2 separate regions of the Homo sapiens genome follow, and region 2 is linked to region 1. The links are contacts of gene promoters, found by promoter capture Hi-C in blood cells and fetal thymus (Javierre and others, 2016). All regions are on one chromosome and are shown on one strand. Each heading gives the region's core, a stretch centred on a gene start or on the middle of the fragment in contact. The rest is flanking DNA. Distances are from core to core; before and after follow the strand shown. Region 1 holds the start of SNRPB2 (small nuclear ribonucleoprotein polypeptide B2). Region 2 holds the start of LINC01431 (long intergenic non-protein coding RNA 1431).

Evidence for each region. The method cuts DNA at HindIII sites, captures the fragments that hold promoters and counts their contacts. A CHiCAGO score of 5 or more calls a contact.
Region 2: the fragment with the promoter of LINC01431 here is called in contact with the fragment with the promoter of SNRPB2 in region 1 in 4 of 17 cell types (non-activated CD4 T cells, naive CD4 T cells, activated CD4 T cells and 1 more); the score reaches 19.3 in non-activated CD4 T cells.

What each region holds. Positions count from the first base shown.
Region 1 is chr20:16,726,889-16,733,143 of GRCh38, forward strand. SNRPB2 (small nuclear ribonucleoprotein polypeptide B2) reads left to right here and starts at 3,138. Exons shown (of 7, transcript NM_003092.5): 1 at 3,138-3,276; 2 at 4,780-4,878; 3 at 5,276-5,448. The coding sequence starts at 4,815. RefSeq lists enhancers at 2,249-3,117, 3,176-3,225, 3,276-3,395 and a silencer at 3,546-3,595. The HindIII fragment of the contact is 9,448 bases long and covers 2,875-6,255 here.
Region 2 is chr20:23,354,372-23,360,626 of GRCh38, forward strand. LINC01431 (long intergenic non-protein coding RNA 1431) reads right to left here and starts at 3,756. Exons shown (of 3, transcript NR_109884.1): 1 at 3,584-3,756; 2 at 2,680-2,766; 3 at 2,223-2,598. It overlaps NXT1 (nuclear transport factor 2 like export factor 1), which reads left to right. Exons shown (of 2, transcript NM_013248.3): 2 at 1-400. The coding sequence ends at 93. RefSeq lists enhancers at 3,182-3,271, 3,462-3,851 and a silencer at 3,902-4,091. The HindIII fragment of the contact is 4,137 bases long and covers 2,740-6,255 here.

The DNA of each region.
Region 1 (6,255 bases), core at 1,888-4,387:
AAAAACTACCATTTCCAAACTTTATGGAATGTGCACATTCTCATAGCCTATCTGAGACATCACCCATTCTGGGGAGAGGGTATTTTGCTGCATGTGAAAGACACACTATTCTTAACATTAATACAGTAGTGAACATCAGAGGCAATAGTCATATTTGGGTTTCTTTCATTCCTAAAAGCAAGAATGTATCCACAAAGAATGAAATGTAAGAATTAAGTAAAATGAAAGAAAATTGCACAAAATTATTTCCTCCCTGAATTGGGGGTGGGAGAGTGGTGCTTTTTAGGAAGTTTCAGTCAACATTATCCCAACCTCCCTGGAAAACATAAACCTGATTTGGTGCTCAACAATAACGCCTAGATTTGTTTAATGCTTGTTGTGAAAATAATTTCACTCTAGATACATTTCTTAATGTAATCACCACCTGGGGAGAGAAAGAAGATACAAACGAATTGCCATACATTTTGTGACTCTATGTAACATAAATAAGACAAAATTTATCCACCAGTTTTATGGTGCATTTTCCTTTATACATGGCTCCTTCTTAAAACTACTGCAGCAAGATACCAAAAACAATTAATGAGAAACATAAAACACGTGCAGATAAGGTAGGGAAATGTATGTGTATTCAGAGTCACTAAGAGACACCTCAGTTATCTTCCTTATAATTTAGACATCTTGGCACAGTTTTATTCCCTACTGTTTGTAGTAATTTTTCTGCTACTCCCAAAATAAGCAAGTTTTATCATCTGCAAATACATGACACTTGGATAGGGTGGTTATAACGCTGCCTCCTTGTTTCTCTCGATTAAAAAAAGCCTGTTTCACAGGAAAATAAATCACGATACCTAACCCAAATGTGAAAGAACAGACTGAGCAGAACTAACAAAACTCATTTGCTCTTCTAGTTTTTAAAAATGTGAGTTTTGGACATCTGATTCCTGATCTCACCCTCAAGAAGTGGATCTGGTTATAAAGTGATGATGTTTTACAGTACATGTGACCATAGTTTAGCTGCTATAATATTCTTAATATAGTTACATAGCCAGGCTATGCAAGGTTTCTCACAAAACCAGAAAAGCTATTCGATCCTTATCATTCCCTTCCTGTACTGTTCTCAATAACTGGCTTCTCAAATCGTTCAGGAAACCACTGAGAATCATTAACGGGTTATTGGAATGCCCAGAGTGACTGCCCAAGGACAGGAAAATGCACTGGCTCTTTTTAGAAGAACCTGGAAAAGTGCATGCAGACCATTGCGGCTGAGTTGGCAATGGATGATTTCCTTCTCACAGTGTAATGTACAATAGCTGTAATTTAATTGTTAATAGAACACAACATGCAGTCTGTCTTCAGGCCTCTGTGTTTCTTGTGGTATTTTCTTCCCAGGTTGGAGTGTTTTTGTATAATCACATCTTATTCTCTTTTAACAGTTATCAACTCTTGGCTAGATCCCCTTATACAATACAGAGTATAGTTTATTCTCAGTAGTGTAGCCATCCTCATTATTATCAAACAGAACTAATTGCTGAGATGCTCATAGTAATATGCAAAACAGCTTGTCCTTTGTTATTTAGAAATTGTTTATATTAAGTTTATATTCTCTTTTAATTTGTTAAAGATATAATTCTTTGACTGAGATAGGACATTTCTTCTCATTGGTTTATTTATTTTAGAGATGAGATCTCACTATGTTGCCCAGGATGATTTTGAACTCCTGGACTCAACCAGTCCTCCTGTCTCAGCCTCCCCAAATGCTAGGATTACAGGTGTGAGCTACTACACTCAGCCATTTCTTCTAGTTTTAGATCTATATAATAAAACGATGCTTTTCTGTGATCCCTTAACATTCTCTACACTCAGGTGCATGTTCAAAGCATATTTGTTTTACTGTTGCCTAGTTTTCCATGTCATTCATTGAATTATCCAATGCATATTAATTATCAGTCACTTTTCCCATTACTAAGGGTACTTGAGTGAACAGAGCAGACAAAAACCCCACCCTTAAAAAGCTTATATTATTTTCAAGTTGTTGCAACTTTGGGTGTTTTTAAAAAATAAAAATTCCCAGCTGATAAAACCAACTTATTTGACAGCTACCTGCCTCACCAGTAGAACCAAGTTATAGCCAGAATTCAGAAATAACATTTTTGAGCATTTATTGTGTCTGACAATGTGCCAATCACTTTACATTTATTTTAGCTCATTTAATGCTTACAACAACTAGAAGGAGGTACTATTAGGATCCCTATTTTACAGATGAAAAAAGTGAAGGTCAGAGAGATTAGTTAAGCAGAGGGTACAAGATTAGGTTCCAGTTGACTCTTAACAACCATTTCATATTCCAGGTGATGCTTTACAGACATCTGATGAATGGATGGATGAATGAATGCATGCACTTTGGGAACTCCCATTCAGCTTGGCATAAATACTAACTCCTTAGAATACCCTAGAAAAATCTAGACCTTTTGTTGGAAGAAAAGAGTGGGAAGGGTGGTAGGGAATTATTTTTTCGAGTGAATTGAGGCAGATGATCTTACAGATGACTGGGTTCTAGTCAGCATGGTTGCCTTATCTGGTGAGAGATGAGAATTGGGCAGACACCAGTTCTGTCTGCCCTGGGCCCTCAAACTGAGTAGCCTCTGAGATTCAAGTTCATCAGCACAGTGTTGGAGGACAGTTCCTGCAGAGCCCCATGAATCAGAGGAGACTCGGAGGCAGGAGGAACTGGCTATCCTAAAGGTGATTTTAAACCGGGGTAGCTAGAGCCCAAAGAAGGGCGAAACCAGGACTAACTGCCCCATAGCATGAGGGGCAGCGCCTGTAAAATTACATAGGATTTGTAAAGGTGGAAGGCACTGTTGCGCCGGGTAAAGCTTCGCAAGGTCGTGGTAGGGGAAATGATTCACTCCCCTTCACTATTCCCTCGCAGCATGGTCCTCACAACCCCCTTCTCTTTCCCCATTTCCATTTCCGGACTCTTCTCCTGCCCGCAGGGCAGACGCACGCGCAGAGAGATTGCCAGCCCTGGCTGCCAGAGACCCGGAAGCATCGATCGGCTCTGTGCTCGGCTTCTAGACTTGTCGGCGCTCGATTGAGGAGCGTGGCTACGTTGCTTCCGGTGCCTGGCTCCGTTTCCTGCTTTTGGTTCTTACAGTAGTCGGCGTAGGCCTTAGGTGGGTTCGTGCGCCTTCTACCTCGCTGTTTCGGTTTTCCTGGCTCCTCGGCCCTTTTCTCCCCTGTTGCAGCTGGGAGCGGACGAAGCGCGAAGCTGGGGTGGGTACGCGTTTGGCCCGGGTTTGGATCTCGGAGGGGCAGGCTTGGGGGTGAGGAGACTGACTCTGGGGCCGGGCATCGCGTGGCAGCTCCCTTGGACTTCGTTAGGGGGCCTTGGGCGAAGGTGCTTGTGTCTGGAGAGGCGGGAGGCTTGCGCGTACGAAGTAAAGGATAGTTAATGTCAGTCTGCTCGTGCGAGGCGTGGACAGTTCACTGCGCTTTCAGGTGTCTTCCAGCGGCTCCCTTTTGGTGGTGGCGGGTAATTCAGGGTGTCCCTGTAACAACGCAGCCCACGATCAAACCTCGCATGAAACCCTGCAAGAGCCTCCCCTTTGTCCCCCTACCTTCACTTTGACCTCTGCCTCAGTCACTTCCCTTTCGTCGTCTCCTTTGCGACCCCTGCCCCTTCTCCAGATTTCGATTTAGGGGGTCGCAAGGCTTTGAGAAGCGTTACGTTTTACCTGTTACCTGCACAAGTGCAGCCCCTGCTTGTAGGCTCTTCCCTTGTCAATCATCCAATGCAGTTCACATACAGTGGATGCTCTGTAAATACTGTGAGATAAAGGAATATGTGGGGCACACAAGGAAATCATCCAAGTTCACAATTTGCAAGTAAAAACCATGTAAAAAATGCAATAGTGTGGTATATGAGGAAGACAAGTGTAGAGGAGAAAGCAAGGGCTGAATTTCCAGGCCTGATGCTTATTAGCTGTGTGACCTTAGGCAAGTTCCTTACCTGGTAATAGCTGTTAATAATAGCTACTCTTAAGTGTTTACCGCTGATGCAGAACTGTGCTAGAATTCATTTAGTCTTCTGAGTTCTATTGGGTAGGTTCTGTTACCATTCTTATTTTACTGATGAGGACCTGAGAGGTTAAGGAACTTCCCTCAGGCAAACAGCTAGTAAGAAGCATAAATAGGATTTGAATTCACATCTGGCTGATACTGGAATCTGAGTTTAATCGTCATGCCACACTGCTGTCATTGAGCTCCTTTCTTTCAAGTCGGTTAGAGATAACCTTGGAGTCCAGACAGCTTGGTGATGCTGTATACAAATTAATAGGTATGGAAGGACTTTGTAAGTGCACCCATTAAGTAGTTGGCAAACTTCATTAATGTCTAACCTTATGATTTTTACTGGATGTACATTTGCTACTTTGGTCATTTTTCTTCAAATCTACATTTTAAAATTATTTCATTGAGGAGGTGGAAAGAAAATGTCACGTGTCATAAGTGAAACGTAAGTGTAAAAATAAATGTGTTGAATTAAATGGTGTTACTAAAATCTGGCTAGGTATTGGTGCTCCAAGTTTTGAATGTGAGAAACTGTTCTTCTTCTGTATGAAAAGGAGGGCTAGTAGGTGCTGGAGATACAATAAAGGCTACAGCCAAACTGACATTTTCTGACAACTGGGATTGAAAGAGAAATGAAAAGTTAATAATTCTTGTGTTGTGTCCTTATGCCACAGTCCAGTATAATTTACTCCTTCCTTTTTATAACAGATTTTTTACTGTCTCCTGAAGAATTTAACACAAACATGGATATCAGACCAAATCATACAATTTATATCAACAATATGAATGACAAAATTAAAAAGGAAGGTAAGTGCTTTTTAGAATACTTGTTCACTACTAAAATGTGTTTATTTACTACTGTCTTAAAAATTGTACTGCCTCAAAACCTCTTACCTCATCATCTTAGTGCCTGAAATAATGGTTTATCCCATTTCCTATAGGGATTTGAAGGCTTTTAAAAAACAAAAATAGGTAGGAACTGACAGTGTGTACAGTCTGTTTCTACTCATAGATATAATGGTTTCATATAACTTTTAAAATTACATATAGCCAATGGGAATAGTATATGTTTTTATAAATATTAAAATATATAACTGTATAAATAAGTGAATGGTGGGGGGGGCAACTCAATGCAGTATCATTTTATGAAGACTTTTGTCATTACTTTATTACCAATAACTTGTTTCTTTTCTAATTTGGACAGAATTGAAGAGATCCCTATATGCCCTGTTTTCTCAGTTTGGTCATGTGGTGGACATTGTGGCTTTAAAGACCATGAAGATGAGGGGGCAGGCCTTTGTCATATTTAAGGAACTGGGCTCATCCACAAATGCCTTGAGACAGCTACAAGGATTTCCATTTTATGGTAAACCAATGGTAAGCCAATTCCATTATTTCACTTTAATCAAGAAATTAATGATATTGATGGGACAGTAGATTTGTAAATATGCTTGAAACTGTGGCTATTGCTTTCTGCTTTTAATTATGTGTGTTTGGGTTTATGTATTTTTATAGAAAAACAGTAGTGGTAGAGTTTAATTTATGACAGTTCAGATGGGCAAAAACAAAATACATTGAGATGTAGAATATTTTAAAAAATAATGGCAGTCTAGGCAATAGTCTTATCTCAAAAAGTTAGAAATTAATAATATCCTGGAAGACTTGAAAAGAAACCTGTTTGTAAACTTGTAAAACATTACGAAACAAAAGTCATGAGTCAAAGAGGAAATTCAGTCTGAAGTTTTAGAATATGTCGTAGTGAAATACTATGTGTCAGAAGCTGCACAGTCTAGATGAAACAGTGATCTAAGGAAAAATGATAGGTTTAAACTCATAGGTTTTAGGAATAACAATGGAAATGAAATGGTTATGAATGGAGAGTTTTAAACTCAGGAATGACATAATGAGATTCACATCTAGCTGCTGGATGAAGGTCGCATTGTGGGAGGGACAGAAAGGAAGTGGGAAACTCAATTAGGAGGCCCTTGATGTAAGTCAGAGATGGTAGAGGATCAGATAAGGGTGACCACAGAGTGTGAAGCAAGGGGTTTCTATGTATGAGTGAATACACCATATCTTAGGTGTGGATTCCAAACTGCTTTTTTTCTGCGATTAGAATGTGATGTGAAGGAGTGTTGGACAGAGAGCCAAGGGCCAGGGTTTAGAGGAGCTGGGTCTTCATTC
Region 2 (6,255 bases), core at 2,506-5,005, 6.6 Mb after region 1:
CAGAACTTCATCCTGACCGCCCAGGCCTCACCCAGCAACACAGTGTGGAAGATCGCAAGTGACTGCTTCCGCTTCCAGGACTGGGCCAGCTAGTGGGGGTGGCAGAGGTCTCTTTGCTTCATTCAGCCCTAGCTCTGTAGAGAAATGCAAACCTCGACTCTCAAGGATGTGAGGAACACAAGTTCATTTCTGTTGTTGCGGAGACACTGCAGACTCCACTGTGCCGAGGTTGAACTCTTTTTTGTTGCTCAAGTTCTAGGAGTCCCTTTCCTGAATATATACTTGTTTGTCATAGTTTCCTTTTCAAAGTAGTAAACTTTTCTATTTTTCTACTTGCCCAGTAGAGACTCTGATTCTGGAAATTCTGACAAATAATTTAATAATACACATGTTGCTTCTTTCCCTGTCTGATGTGTTTGACCAGGTTGTGAGGGAGGAGGAGGGCTAAAGGCAGAAAGCATAATAGGAAGCACCCGCACAGGGGTGAGGATCAGGGCTTAGTACCTACCCCAGGCACCAGTGTGCACATAGTTGGCCCACCTGGAGCTGTGATTCACAGCCCCATGCACACTAGAATCCCTTGGGACACTGAAAATTACCTATGCCAAGGCCATACTCCAGACCCAACCATGCTTGAGTGTGTGTGTGTGTGTGTGTGTGTGTGTGTGTGTGTGTGTGTGTGTGTGGTGGTGGGTAGGGGGGTTGGTTTTGTTCCAGGCTGGAGTGCAGTGGCATAATCTTGGCTCACTGCAACCTCCATCTCCCGGGTTCTAACAATTCTCGTGCCTAAGCCTCCTGAGTAGCTGGGATTGCAGGCACATGCCACCACACCCGGCTAATTGTTTGCCTGAATCTTTGAGGATACGGCTGGGCATGGGCAGTTTCTAAAAGCACCCTAGGTGTCTTTTAGGATACATCACCTTAGGATATAGCAGAATCACCTAACAGATGGCTGGGCCCTACCTTAGCACCTTAGCTGAGAATTAAATGATGAGAACAGATGAAATACTAGAGTTAGCTAATTGCTTATAAATGAAGCCACTATATTAAACTCATTGATAAAGAGAAAGTGAATCAGCACTGATTCTGAGAGGAAGAAGCACTGAAACTAGGATGGAGGACATCAGAACCAGAAGCTGCTGTTACTGATCCTAAAGGCCAAACCCAATTGCATTTCTTCAATGTAAAGAATAGAAAACCCTATAGAAGTTGGACCAATAGATGATGTGCCTGCCATGCTGCAGCTTCCCCAGTTAAGTTGTCTTTGGTAAAAGTGTGCTAGGTTTGGGATAGGGTAGTCAAGATACTGCAATGGGAAATTTTGAGAAGGGTAAGAATCCTGATAAGCACAGTGACACAGGTAGCCGTTTCCTCTTGACACCCCTTCCCTTCTCTATTATCTGAAGCCCAGTGTTTTGAGAGATAAGGGACCCACCTTAAATACTTGACTTTCTCATTCAATTTGTAGCTAGGTCTGACATGTGATTAAGTTCTGGCCAATGAAGTAGGACTGAACTTGGGGGAATTTTCCTTCAACAGACCCTTCTTTCTTTCCCACTCTATCCTGCTGCCTGGAAAGGTTATGCTGACCTGACCACGGGCTCTGGCTCAGTCTTGGCCAAGAGAACAGCTCAGCCATACCCTAGACGTAGGATAGTGCTGAGCTAAAAGGAGCCTAGGTCCCATGTGGAAACACCAAAATAGCCCCAGCTCACTCAACCAAAGACTTCTTTTTAAATGAGAAATCCCATCTTAAGCCATTATCAATTTGGGGTGTGTGACACTGACACACAGCAGTAATCCTAAGTGAGGAAAAGGATTTGAATGGGGCAGACTGTATTCACTACAGGGCCCAGAAGACGCGGGGACGGCCCCAACTACTGCCCTTCAGGTCCGGGCCAGACCCGCAATGGGCAGGATGGGTAGGGTACAGGGCGTGCGTCCCCACCTACACTAGCCTGGTTGCAGGCGGCCTCCAAGGGCACAGCGGGAAGCTCCGCCCTTGCCATGCCCCCGCCACCGGGGAAGGCAAGACAAATGTGCGTGGCACCCTCCTCCTTCGGTTCTGGGACACATCTCCACCAAGCGGCCGTTCGGCAGGTAGGGCCAGATGGTCCCGGCTCGTCCCTGCGGGTGGGGTTTCCCACCGGCGGAAAGCGCAAGCCCCTCCCGTTCTGTCCAGCGCGCTGCCCGCTGCCTTAATTATAAGGCAGATGAAGGTGAAAAGTTTACTGGTTTTTATTTTTGCAACTTTTTGTAAATTTTAAATTATTCTAAAAAGTTTAAGAAATGAATTGTGCTGAGGAGTATAATCAGCACGCAGTGCGAGTTCTTATAGTGGCCACGTCCACAAACCCTGTGTTGTGGAAGAACAGAAGGCGTTCTGCTTTCTGTGTTTCACCGTCTCTCCCTCGCTTTAACTTCCAGGTCCCGGAGTAGTGGTGACAGCAAGGTCTGTTGGTTTCTTTGGTTTAGGTTTGATGAAAGGCCACTCCAGTGGGGTAGGAGGTGGGCAGGGAGAACAGGGGCTAGGGTGGGAGGGGCAGGAGTTGGGTCCTGGGGGTGGAGGAGATGACGGGGAGAGTGGCTTGGAGAAATCTGCAAGAAGAGACATTGGAAGGCCGGGGGAGGTGAAATGGACACTGGGTGAAGCTGAGGAGTCCTAGTGAACCATGTTACCTCTGATCCAGATATTCCCAGAACAACAAGAAATCAAGCTTCTGAATGTGGTCTGTTGCAAGCTTGGAAGGTGCACACCTGTTGCTGCTAATTTGGACAATTTGGGGGAAGAGCAGAGATTTAGATGTTGCTTTGGTCGACCTTAAACACCAGCCCTGTCTCCCCTACCACTTTGCCAAATTAGGGCCCCGTCTCTCTAAAGAGCAAACAGAAAACTGCAGAAAGTTGCTTTGTCCTGTAGACAAGAGGCTGGGACTAGGTAAGAGGAGGGAGCCAGGATGCAAAACTTAAGACCAGCCTGGCCAACAAGGCGAAACCCCGTTTCTACTAAAAATAGAAAAATTAGCTGGGCGTGGTGGCAGGCGCCTGTAATCCCAGCTACTCAGGAAGCTGAGGCAGGACAATCGCTTGAACCCAGGAGGCGGAGGTTGTAGTCAGCCAAGATCGCGCCACTGCATTCCAGTCTGGGCGACAGAGCGAGACTCCGTAACAAAAAACAAACAAACAAACAAAAAATCTTAAACATCACCAACGAGCCTTGTGAGAAATGGTTTAACGTTGTGATACCTTGCCCAATTTTAAGGCAGGTAAAGGTGTGTGTTAAAACTCAACTCTTGAACTGAACCCCAGCTGCCCTTTAGGGCATGCTTAATTTGATGTGGACTGTAACCTCTTTTGCAGCATTGTAGAGATTTGGAATCTGCACATTAGGAAGAGACCCCACGAGGCGGTGGCGTTCTTTCTCGTTCGGAGCTCACACCCCTCCTGGGGAGCCCTCTCCCAACCCGGGCTCCCGGTAAGCGCGGTCGCCGCTCCTCTGAGGGCTGCTCTTCCCTCGCTTCTGAGCCGAGGCCCCCGCGACACGAACGCCACGCCCGAAGCGCTCTTGCCAGGACGTACTGACCGAGGGTAGGCTGCCCAGCCGGGTGGTAACGTTGAGGAAAGGACAGCAGCTTCGCAAAGGAGCTGGGTAAAACCACGCCCAGACCCCGCTGGCCACCAGCCCGAGACCAAGACGCAGGCGGTGGCGCCGGTTTCTCACTCAACCGCAGGTTCCAGCATCCCCGATACGGCCGACGTCATTACCCTGCGACCGCTCAGGACACTTCTGAGGACTCTTTTGACAGCTAGTAATCGCGCGGTGGCGCGACCACGTGACTCCGGCGCCCTAGCCCCGCCCTCCGTCTCCAAGGAGCCCTGGAAGGAGCTATACCAGCGGCTCCAGAAGGCGGGGAGAGGCGGGGCCGGACTCCGGGACAGCCAATGGGCGAGGAGTGCCGCCCAGCCTGACCCACCGGCCGCTCCCTCACGAGCCTGTGGGCGTGCGCCGGCTGTGCAGGTGAGGGGCAGCGAGGGCGCCTAGTGGGCAGGGCGCCGGCGTTGCGCGTGCGTCAGTGTTCTTCCTTGTGCAGTTTAGAATTTGATACATTTCTTTCCAGTCTATTTCTATAGATTTGTTTTCAAATCACATCAGACCCTATGTAAAATAGTGTACCGTCTTTACTCATTATAACATGGTGAGCATTTCCCCAAGCTATTACACATATTTTTAAACATTGTTTTAATGACCGGCATAATAATCCAGTGCTTGGATATATCAAATTCTTCGGCCATCTCCTTATAGGTGAGATTGTTTCCAAAGTTTCACTAATGTAAGTGCACTGCAGTGAACGCCCTTACGTAACAATTGTTCACTCCCGTGTACTTTTCTCGTGCAGAGTTCTACAGCATGAAACACTATATTTAACTTTGTCAGGTTGATGTTTATCAGTGGTTTATTATTGTTTTTATAGTATTCCATTGTCAGTGAAGTATGCCATTCACACTGTCAAGTGAATTGTCTATTTGTATTATTTAAAAAAAAGATCACAAACATAGAAAGGAGAGCTTTATTTCTTTAAACGGTGATAACCTGCAAGGTGGCCCTTCTGACAGGCTGGGAAGCATAGCTTCTGGCAGAAGCTCAAAAGGCAGGCAGCTGGAGGGAAGGGGGCCTAAGACAGGAATTTAAGCTGAAGGACTTAGCCAAGTACACATATGAACAGGCCACAGGAAGAGCTATGAATATTCATGAAACGGGTCCTGACCCATGCTTACTGGACAAACGTGCATGTTACAGGTGACCTATGTTTACTTTGGGGTGGACTCTTAGCATTTACAGGTATTCATGTATTACATTTAGACCCTATAAGTTGAAAGATCTTTTCAGGACACCGATGCACTTGTGTGCAGCCTCTGTAAACCGCCAGAATCAGCCCCTGTTCGGTTGTTTCCCATCAGGAAAAAGTTACTGCAGTCAGTCTCTGGTCCAATCAAAGCAGTAATTATTTGTGGAAGTGGTGGGGCTGGGGCAGGGGGCGTGTCAGTCAGCATGTGGAGGTGGATGAAAAGCACATTGTTTGAATATTGCTTATCTAGAGGCCAGTGCTTGTTTGGCTGCCAGAGAATAAAAACCTTGTGGCAGTTAAGGCATAGTTTCTTCTTGAAGTGTAGAGGTGCATGACAACCCTTGCCAGGCATGGCCCTTCATTCTTTATCATTTAGTATTGCCACAAAGAGTCTGTGAGTCTTATGACCTCTATTTTTAAAGCTATTAAGACACTCAACTAAAGCAATCCTTTCAGTATTGAATGGATAAGCTAGCATTATGTTATGCTAGCTAACATAATCGGAGACGGAGTCTCATTCTATTGCCCAGGCTGGAGTGCAATGGCATGATCGAAGCTCACTGCAACCTCCATCTCCTGGGTTCAAGTGATTCTCCTGCCTCAGCCTCCTGAGCATCTGGGATTACAAGTGCCTGTCACCACTCCCGGCTAATTTGGTTTTGTTTTTTTGAGACAGAGTTTTCCTCTGTTGCCCAGGCTGGAATGCAGTGGTGCAATCTCCGCTCACTGCAACCTCTGCCTCCCATGTTCAAGCGATTCTCCTGCCTCAGTCTCCTGAATAGCTGGGATTAAAGGCATGTACCACCTCGCCCAGCTAATTTTTGTATTATTAGCAGGGAAAGGGTTTCACCATGTTGTCCAGGCTGGTCTTGAACTCCTGACCTCAGGTGATCCGCCCACTTCAGCCTCCCAAAGTGCTAGAATTACAGGTGTGAGCCACCGCACCTGGCCTAATTTTTGTATTTTAGCAGAGACGGGGTTTCACCATGTTGGCCAGGCTGGTCTTCAACTCCTGACCTCAAGTGATCGGCCCGCCTCGGCCTCCCAAAGTGCTGGGATTACAGGCGTGAGCCACCGTGCCTGACCACCTTTTTGTAATGCAAAACAAAATCATAAAACACGATTCTGGGCCTGCTGGAGCCATGGGTGAAAACTGCGTTCATTCCAATTTCTTCAAATCATGGAATGCAAATATAGAGAGTCGGCCTAAGAAAGATTTCTGTCACTCATTCATTCTTCAAATATTTATTGAGCACCTACTATGTGTGGGAAGCTGGCTCCTGTTCAGGAAATATAATTAAAAGTACAATCTCCCAACCCTCTTCAGAAAGGTAGTGGAGAAAGAAAACACTTTGTAATTGAATAAGCATTAAACTAGAATGTGATACCCATCACAGGCAATCCATTA